Regions from separate parts of the Homo sapiens genome. Here region 2 is linked to region 1. Evidence: promoter capture Hi-C in 16 types of primary human blood cells and fetal thymus (Javierre and others, 2016). All regions are on one chromosome and are shown on one strand. Each heading gives the region's core, a stretch centred on a gene start or on the middle of the fragment in contact. The rest is flanking DNA. Distances are from core to core; before and after follow the strand shown.

Region 1 (3,444 bases), core at 561-3,060:
ACACAGAACGGAGAAACTGCAAGGAATTTGGGGAAGGCATTTGAGTTTCCTCAGCTTCATGAAAAATAAGTGCAGAACAAAAGGTCAGAGCAACAGCTACAAGCACATGTACATTTTAGTGAACGTGAGGGGATGTGGTCCTTGCCGGCCACACTTCTGCCCTCAAATGCAGAGGTACTTGAAACACCAGTTGGCTGTATGAACGAACAAAGGCATGACAAGGCTTCTGCAATCAGTCCAGGTGCTGGTTACACGGCTTTGGACGGGTCACTTAACCTTGATTTTCTCATCTGTAAAACAGAGACACTAATATCTACTTCACAGAGTTATGAGAACTAAATGAAGCCACACACACACACTGCCTAAAGCACTACAGGTTCTTAATAAATATTACTTTCACTCTATTCCTCTACCTCAACCTTCAAGTTGGGAGAGAACATTTCTGCCATTAGGGATGAACTTAGGAAAAAGAACATGGTAGGTGAGAATCGTTCGTGTTAGTCAGTGTGGACCACACCTTATGCTGAGCACTGGGAAGCTTCCAAAGTTCAGAAGGCACAGTCATCTGTGGGACCCACCTAATCTCTTCCCGCTCTCTCCCGCCTTGCTGCACCCCAGCCCTCCTAGCTCTGCTGGCTTCCTTTCTCCGCTGAACACAACAAGCTCATCCCTGCCTTGGAGCAAACCTAGTGCTGTTCCTTCAGCTTGGGATGATTTGCTTCTCCCTCCCCACAGCTACCTCCGTTTGAATCTTCATATCCCAGTTCAAAAGTTGCCTCCTCCGAACTTCTTGGGGTGATGAAAATGTCCCAAATTTGAACTTGCCATGTTTACGCAACTGCATAAAATTTCCAAACTCACAATATACACTTTCAATGGTTGAAATTAATGTTATTTTATACTTCAATAAAGCTGTCACACGTATTCTTTTTTAAAGTCACCTCCTCAGACGCTTCTTTGCCAACTTTAACATATCTAATCTTCCATCACATCCCCTGGAATTTCTTGTTTACACTCAAAATCTCTTCCCCCCCAGAATGCTGGCTCCAAGAGGGCAGCCACTTGCCTGGATTCTTCCCTTAATGCATACTGGGTCCCACAGTACAATGCCTGGCCCAGGGCGGCTGGTGTTTAATACTACTTGCCTGGAGAAGTACTGCCTGTACGGTGGCACCTATATACGTATACAATAAATACTTGGCGGGCTAAGACAGAAACAGACTTAGTTTCAGAGACTGGTAACTGCTACGAAAGAAATGGAGCAGGTTGACGTGGAAGAGGCTAAAAGGGGACGCCCTTCTGCAAAGCGGCCAGGGAAAGCTTCTCCCAGGAGCTGACATGTATCTGACGAGACGCCAGACGTGTAAGGGGGAGGGACAGAGGCGACACACACTGCATTAACGCAATGTGACCCTTCCCAGAGGCTCAGTTCCCCCACAAGAGAAACGATGGATTAGGCCCTAGGTGACCCCTAAGGCCATTTCCAGCTCTGACCTCGCTTCCAGGGCCCAGTAACGAAGCTTAGTCAACAGTCCCGCTCGCGCCCCAGCATCCCGCAGAAGCGCGCTCCCGGGAGGCAACTCGGCCTCTGCGGGAGCCATGGCGGCGGTTAACGACGGGACGCGCGCGGCACGGGGCCTACCTGGGGGTCTCGCCCCGGCGGAAAGCGGCGGCCGGGAGCAGAAGGGTCTGAGGAGTTTGCGAACCTGCTCTGGCGCGAAGGACGAGGGCCAGGAGCGCGGACAGAAATCCCAGGAGCCCGAAGCCTCCTTAAGCCTGCGGTAGAAACTGCCCTGACTACCGCGGAAACAACGCGCGTGCGCCCTGGAGCCACTTCCTGCGTCGCCCGGAAATCGTCGAAGAAAAAGGCTCCTTTTCCCGCAAGGCGACAGCACATGCGCAAAAACGCTTTACACCAGCAGTTTGCGAATTGGTCCAAAGTTGATGTAGCCGCTGCAAGTTACTAAGCGACTGCTTTTATAAATCCGCAACTGGCCAGGCGCGGTGGCTCACGCCTGTAATCCCAGCACTTTGGGAGGCCGAGGCGGGCTGATCACCTGGGGTCAGGAGTTCAAGACAAGTCTGGCCAACATCGTGAACCGCCCCGCCCCCCGCCCCCCCCGCCCCCCCGCGCCGCCCCCCCCCGCCCCCCGCCCCCGTCCCCCCGCCCCCCCCGCCCCCCCCGCCCCCCGTCCCCCCGCCCCCCCGCCCCCCCGTCCCCCCGTCAGTACTAAAAATACAAAAATTAGCCGGGCATGGTGGCGGGTGCCTGTAATCCCAGCTGCTTGGGAGGCTAAGGCAGGAGAATCGCTTGAACCCAGGAGGTGGAGGTTGCAGTGAGCCGAGACCATGCCATTGCACTCCAGTCTGGACAACAAGAGCGAAACTCCATCTCAAATCAGTCAATCAATCCGCAACTAGGGCTAGTGCAAGGTAGCTAGCTGTTTTCTCTTGTGAATTAATTATTGCATTTATCATGTATAAACATCTAAAAGATTCTGATTGCTTCCAATTCACGTCCAAGGCCAACCTCCGAGAAGCTGCTCTAACGCTGCCTCCGAACAAGGCGAGGTCGGCCGCGGGTTTCCCGCCCTGGCCTCTCCCTGTTTGCCCACTGGGGTACCCTGAGCCCACCTCGGGGCTCTTTGGGCCTCAGTTTCCTGCTGCATGGTGGGGAAAATGATGCCAGGGCTGTTCCTAATTAGGGTCAAGTGAAATCATACGTGAACTACTCTTACTAATAGAACTGTCTGTAGAAATGTTAAGGGATTCTTATTACTCACACACGCCCACTCCAAATATTTCAGTTGGTTGTTTCCTCCCAACCCCTACTTTTAGGAGCATCTGAAGAAGGAAGTGAAGGAAAAGACAGATCACAAGGAAGGGATTTCGTGAGGTTATGTAGCTACCCTGGATTCTCTCCTTCACTACTCAGTGTGGTCTGCGTGCCTTGACCTTCTTAAGGAGGTTTAGGATCTGGGGTATCTTTTTATAAAATGCAGATTCAGTAGGTCTACGATGGGCCTAAAAATCCACATTTCTACCAAATTCCCAGCAGAGGTTGCTGGGCCGTGAACCAGAGTTAAGTACCAAGGCTGTAGATCATTTGGAATCCTGGGCAGCTTTTTAAAAACTGTGATGTTTACACTGCACCCTTAGAGATTCTGATTTAGTACGCCTGGGCTAGAAAAGAGGAAATTAATATTTTTTAAAAGCTCCCCAGGTGATTCTAAGATGCAGCCAAGACTGAGAACCTCTAGTCTAGACGATGATGGTAATAATAGCTCTTTTGAGCATCACCCTATGCTAAGCGCTTTAGATGCTCCATCTCCTGTAGTTTCCAGACCAGCCCTAAAAGATAGGTATTGTGATTATCTCCATTTTATAGATATGGAAAATGAAGCTGACAGAGGTGATGTTGTGTCCGGAATTGGTGGGTTCTTG
Region 2 (3,444 bases), core at 488-2,987, 1.3 Mb before region 1:
CGGTGACCGTCTTCTTCTCCAAGCGCCGAGAGGCACCTGAGCGGTGGGTGAACAGCGGGAAGGCCCGGGCCAGGGCACAGGCGGAAGCAAAGACCTCCGGCTGCTCGCAGACCATCTGTGGCACATAGGGAGACGGCGTGAGGGGTGCAAGGGCCGCCACCAGGGAGTGCAGGGAGCTGCTCTTTGAACGCCTCCGGAACATCAGCTCCCTGGCAGGTGACATCTAGACAGAGATGTCCCACAGCAGCCGCCACCCCATCCCTCAGGTCATCCCCGGAACCATGGGACCACCATTGGTCATGCTCCAAGAGAAATAACACATTGGCCACCAGATGTCAACAGCCTGACCAGCCATGAAAATGAGGGACAGAGGGACAGACACAAAGTGGGCCTCAGGAAATCTAGGTTTGAGTCTCTGATTTGCCACCAAAACTGATCTGGGGCAAATCCCCGCGTCTCTCTGGACCTGTTTCCCTGTCTACAGAGCAGGGATGATAACGTCCACAGCCCTCTGGGCGTGCGCTGCAGTCTGAGCAGGGCTGTGAGCTCCCCAGGCCCGAGCTCACCGCTGCCCGACTAGGAGCACCGTGGCTGCCTCCTCTCGAAGCACTCACCACAATGCAGCGATGCGCTCCGGGCGGCAGGCAGGTCCGCACCAGCCGCGTGATGAAGTGGGCGGCCGAGGGGCTGTTGTGCCGGCTCACCCTGCAGGGCAGGGCAGCCACGGTGGCGTAGTTCAGGTAGAGGGGACAGCTGTCCGTGGGGTTGGGGTTGAGCGTGCTCAGGGCAGCCTGCCAGAGCTAGATCAGAAGGGAGAGACAAGACACAGAGGCTTCAAACAGCGGCCACGTGCCAGGAGGCCCTGCCCTGCAGCCACGGCCACAACCACTCCTGCAGTCCTGGAAGGGCACTGCGCAGCTCCCGGCCACCGTTTTCCCATCCTTAGGGAGATGTGTCGCCTCTCTGCAGAGCTAACTGTCTCTAGGCTGGCTCGCATCCCCCTGGTGGGATGAAGCCACCAAGCCTGGAAGGGCCAGGCTGGGGGCTGCTTTGCTTCCAACACTCGGATAGGGCTTAGGCGGCTTCCACCAGAGAGGGGGCAGGGGCCAGGTGTCCCCAAGGAAAGGCAGCTGGGGACACTGCCATGGGAACTTCTGGAAGCCAGGGCCTGTCGCCAGGCGGGGCCGACGCGCGGCCCTGGGAGCGGCCACGTCTCCCCCCCCGCCGTCCGCAGGTGTCGCGGCCTCGCGGGGCGCAGGGCTGGGCTGACAGGAGGACCACCGCGCCGCACCGGCGACGGGGCCTGGGGCTGGGCCTCCGCGGGCGAGGACTGGCCTGGCGGCTGAGCCCTTCAGGGAGGCGGCCCGGCCTCGTTGGGCCCGGCCCGGCGGCGGCGGGGGTGCGGCGGGCGAGGCGGGGCCTCCGCGGGCCGCCCGGGCCTGGGCTTCCGCGGCGCGGGTCGCATGGCGGCCGGCGGCCCGCTCACCTCCTCGGTGACCCGGGGCTGCAGCTTCCCGCGGACGTGGCTCCAGGGCACGCGGTGCAGGTGGTGCAGCTGCCCGAGCAGCAGCAGGGGCCGGCTCTGTGGGTCCGAGTCCCCCGCGCTCGCCTGGAACTGCAGCCCCACGTTCGCCATCTTCCTGCCGGCCCACGCCCCGGCCCTGCCCGGCCCGGCCCGGCCCGCCGCTCGGCCCCCTTCGCCCCGCTCCGGCCCGGCCTCGGCACCGCCCCGGCCCTGCCCGGCAGCCCGCGGGCCCCGCCTCCCCCGCCGCTCCGGGCTGCTCGCGAGACGTGCAGGGCCCGCCCGGGGCGCGAGGGGGCGCCGGCCAGGCCGGGCGGAAGGGTGCGGGCAGGCCCGGCCGGGCAGGCCCGAAGCCGGCCCCGAGCAGGCCCTGCCGAGTAGGGCCCGCGCGCCCGGCCTCCAGCGGCGCCGCCCCTGGGCCTAGCGGCCCTGCCCAACACGCGGGGCGACGTGGCCCGCCAGGCAGCGCCTCCCGGACGGGCCTGGCCTCCAGTGGGGCCTGGGCCGACGTAGGCCCAAGCCCACCCGACGCAGTTCCGCCCGGTCAGGCCTCAGGCTGGCCCCAAGCAGGTCCCCCGAGGTCCCTTAGCAGCTGCTTTTGATCCCCAGGGACCCCGCACCCTGGCCACCCATCAGTTAGGCCGGAGGGGCCCAGTGACTCTTGGACCTGAGTCAGGTCCTTTTGTCCCACTGCCTGGCATGGTGGGTACAGCGTGGACGGTCACTTCCTCCTCACTTAATCGGAGGTTCCCTGGCGTTTATCAGACCCCGCTCTGCCAGGCACTGCCCTGGATGTGAGAGGGTGACAGGGACGTGGCTTTCCATCCAGGGCACTGCTGCTGGGATGGCCAGTTACAAATCCAGGCACTGCCTGGCTGCATGGGGGGCCTTCCCGCCCACCCCTTTGCAAGAAGGGTCATCTGGCACAGTCTAAGCAGGAAAGGAGGGACGAGATGAGACGAGGAAGGAGCAGGGTGACCTGAGTCACCTCAGTCGCCTTACAGGGGAGGAAAGGCCATCGGGGGTGTGGGGCAGGAGCCGGGTGGTGGAGGAGCCAGGGGTGAGCCTTGAGTGGATGGTGGAGGCGGAGGGTCCCACCCACAGGGTCAGATGCAAGGGTCAGGGAATGACGATGCATTGGGGAAGCTCCACCCAGGAGTCATTTAAAAGCAAAAATCTGTTACCCAACATCCTGATTGCTCAAGGGCCTTTGGTTGGTACCCTCCTCTGTTACCTCCATGTAGTTCCATAAGCCACTCCTGTTATTTTGAGTTTCTTCTTCATAACCAGCCTAAAAATGAAAAAAAAAAAAAAAAAAAAAGAAAAGAAAAAAAGAAAAAAAAGCACTGTCAACTCCCTGGCGTGGTGTGAGAGGTTTTCCACCACTGACCTCCCAGCTGGCCCCCTAGCTCCCTAACTTGTAGCCCCGGGAGCCACAAGCCAGGCTTTCACCTTCCCTGTCCACAGGCTCCAGGTCTGTCTGCTCAGCTCTGAGCCATGGTCCCTGGCCCCTTGGAAACACCACAGACTAGAGCTTCAGCATCCTGAAGGCAGGTCTTTTTGACTTTTTGTTGTTTTTTTTTCCTCCAGTTCCTGGCACAGAGCAGGCACTCAAAAAAAAAAAAAAAAAAAAAAAAAAAAAAAAAAAAAGCTGTTGAATGACTGAAAGGCATTCCTTTGAAACCCTCAGCTTTCCCGACATAAAAGTCAACGCTAATTGGATCTTATTTTCTTCAAAAGATTTTACAGCAGCTGAATGTTTTCACACATTGGTAAAGGGTACTAACAGTGTGTATGAAGATCTCTCACTCTTTTTTCTGTTTGCAAATACGTTGCAGACAGGCACACGGCACTCCAGAGGACTGAGACAGCTGGAGGATCTTCCTAGAGGGTGAGAGACTAAGGCCATGCCCTGACAGATG

Evidence for each region. Contacts are between HindIII fragments. The CHiCAGO score rates a contact against its expected background, and 5 or more counts as called.
Region 2: a contact is called between the fragment with the promoter of NPEPL1 here and the fragment with the promoter of RAE1 in region 1, in 1 of 17 cell types (total CD8 T cells). The highest score is 5.2, in total CD8 T cells.

What each region holds. Positions count from the first base shown.
Region 1 is chr20:57,349,621-57,353,064 of GRCh38, reverse strand. RAE1 (ribonucleic acid export 1) reads right to left here and starts at 1,810. Exons shown (of 12, transcript NM_003610.4): 1 at 1,643-1,810. RefSeq lists enhancers at 1,341-1,420, 1,611-2,179. The HindIII fragment of the contact is 3,413 bases long and covers 1,523-3,444 here.
Region 2 is chr20:58,691,093-58,694,536 of GRCh38, reverse strand. It overlaps NPEPL1 (aminopeptidase like 1), which reads right to left and starts at 1,737. Exons shown (of 12, transcript NM_024663.4): 1 at 1,487-1,737; 2 at 615-800; 3 at 1-115. The coding sequence starts at 1,636. STX16-NPEPL1 (STX16-NPEPL1 readthrough (NMD candidate)) reads right to left here. Exons shown (of 23, transcript NR_037945.1): 9 at 3,310-3,444; 10 at 2,975-3,132; 11 at 2,757-2,813; 12 at 615-800; 13 at 1-115. RefSeq lists enhancers at 1-158, 1,599-2,304 and silencers at 1,222-1,311, 1,332-1,411, 1,442-1,601, 1,612-2,101. The HindIII fragment of the contact is 11,943 bases long and covers 1-3,444 here.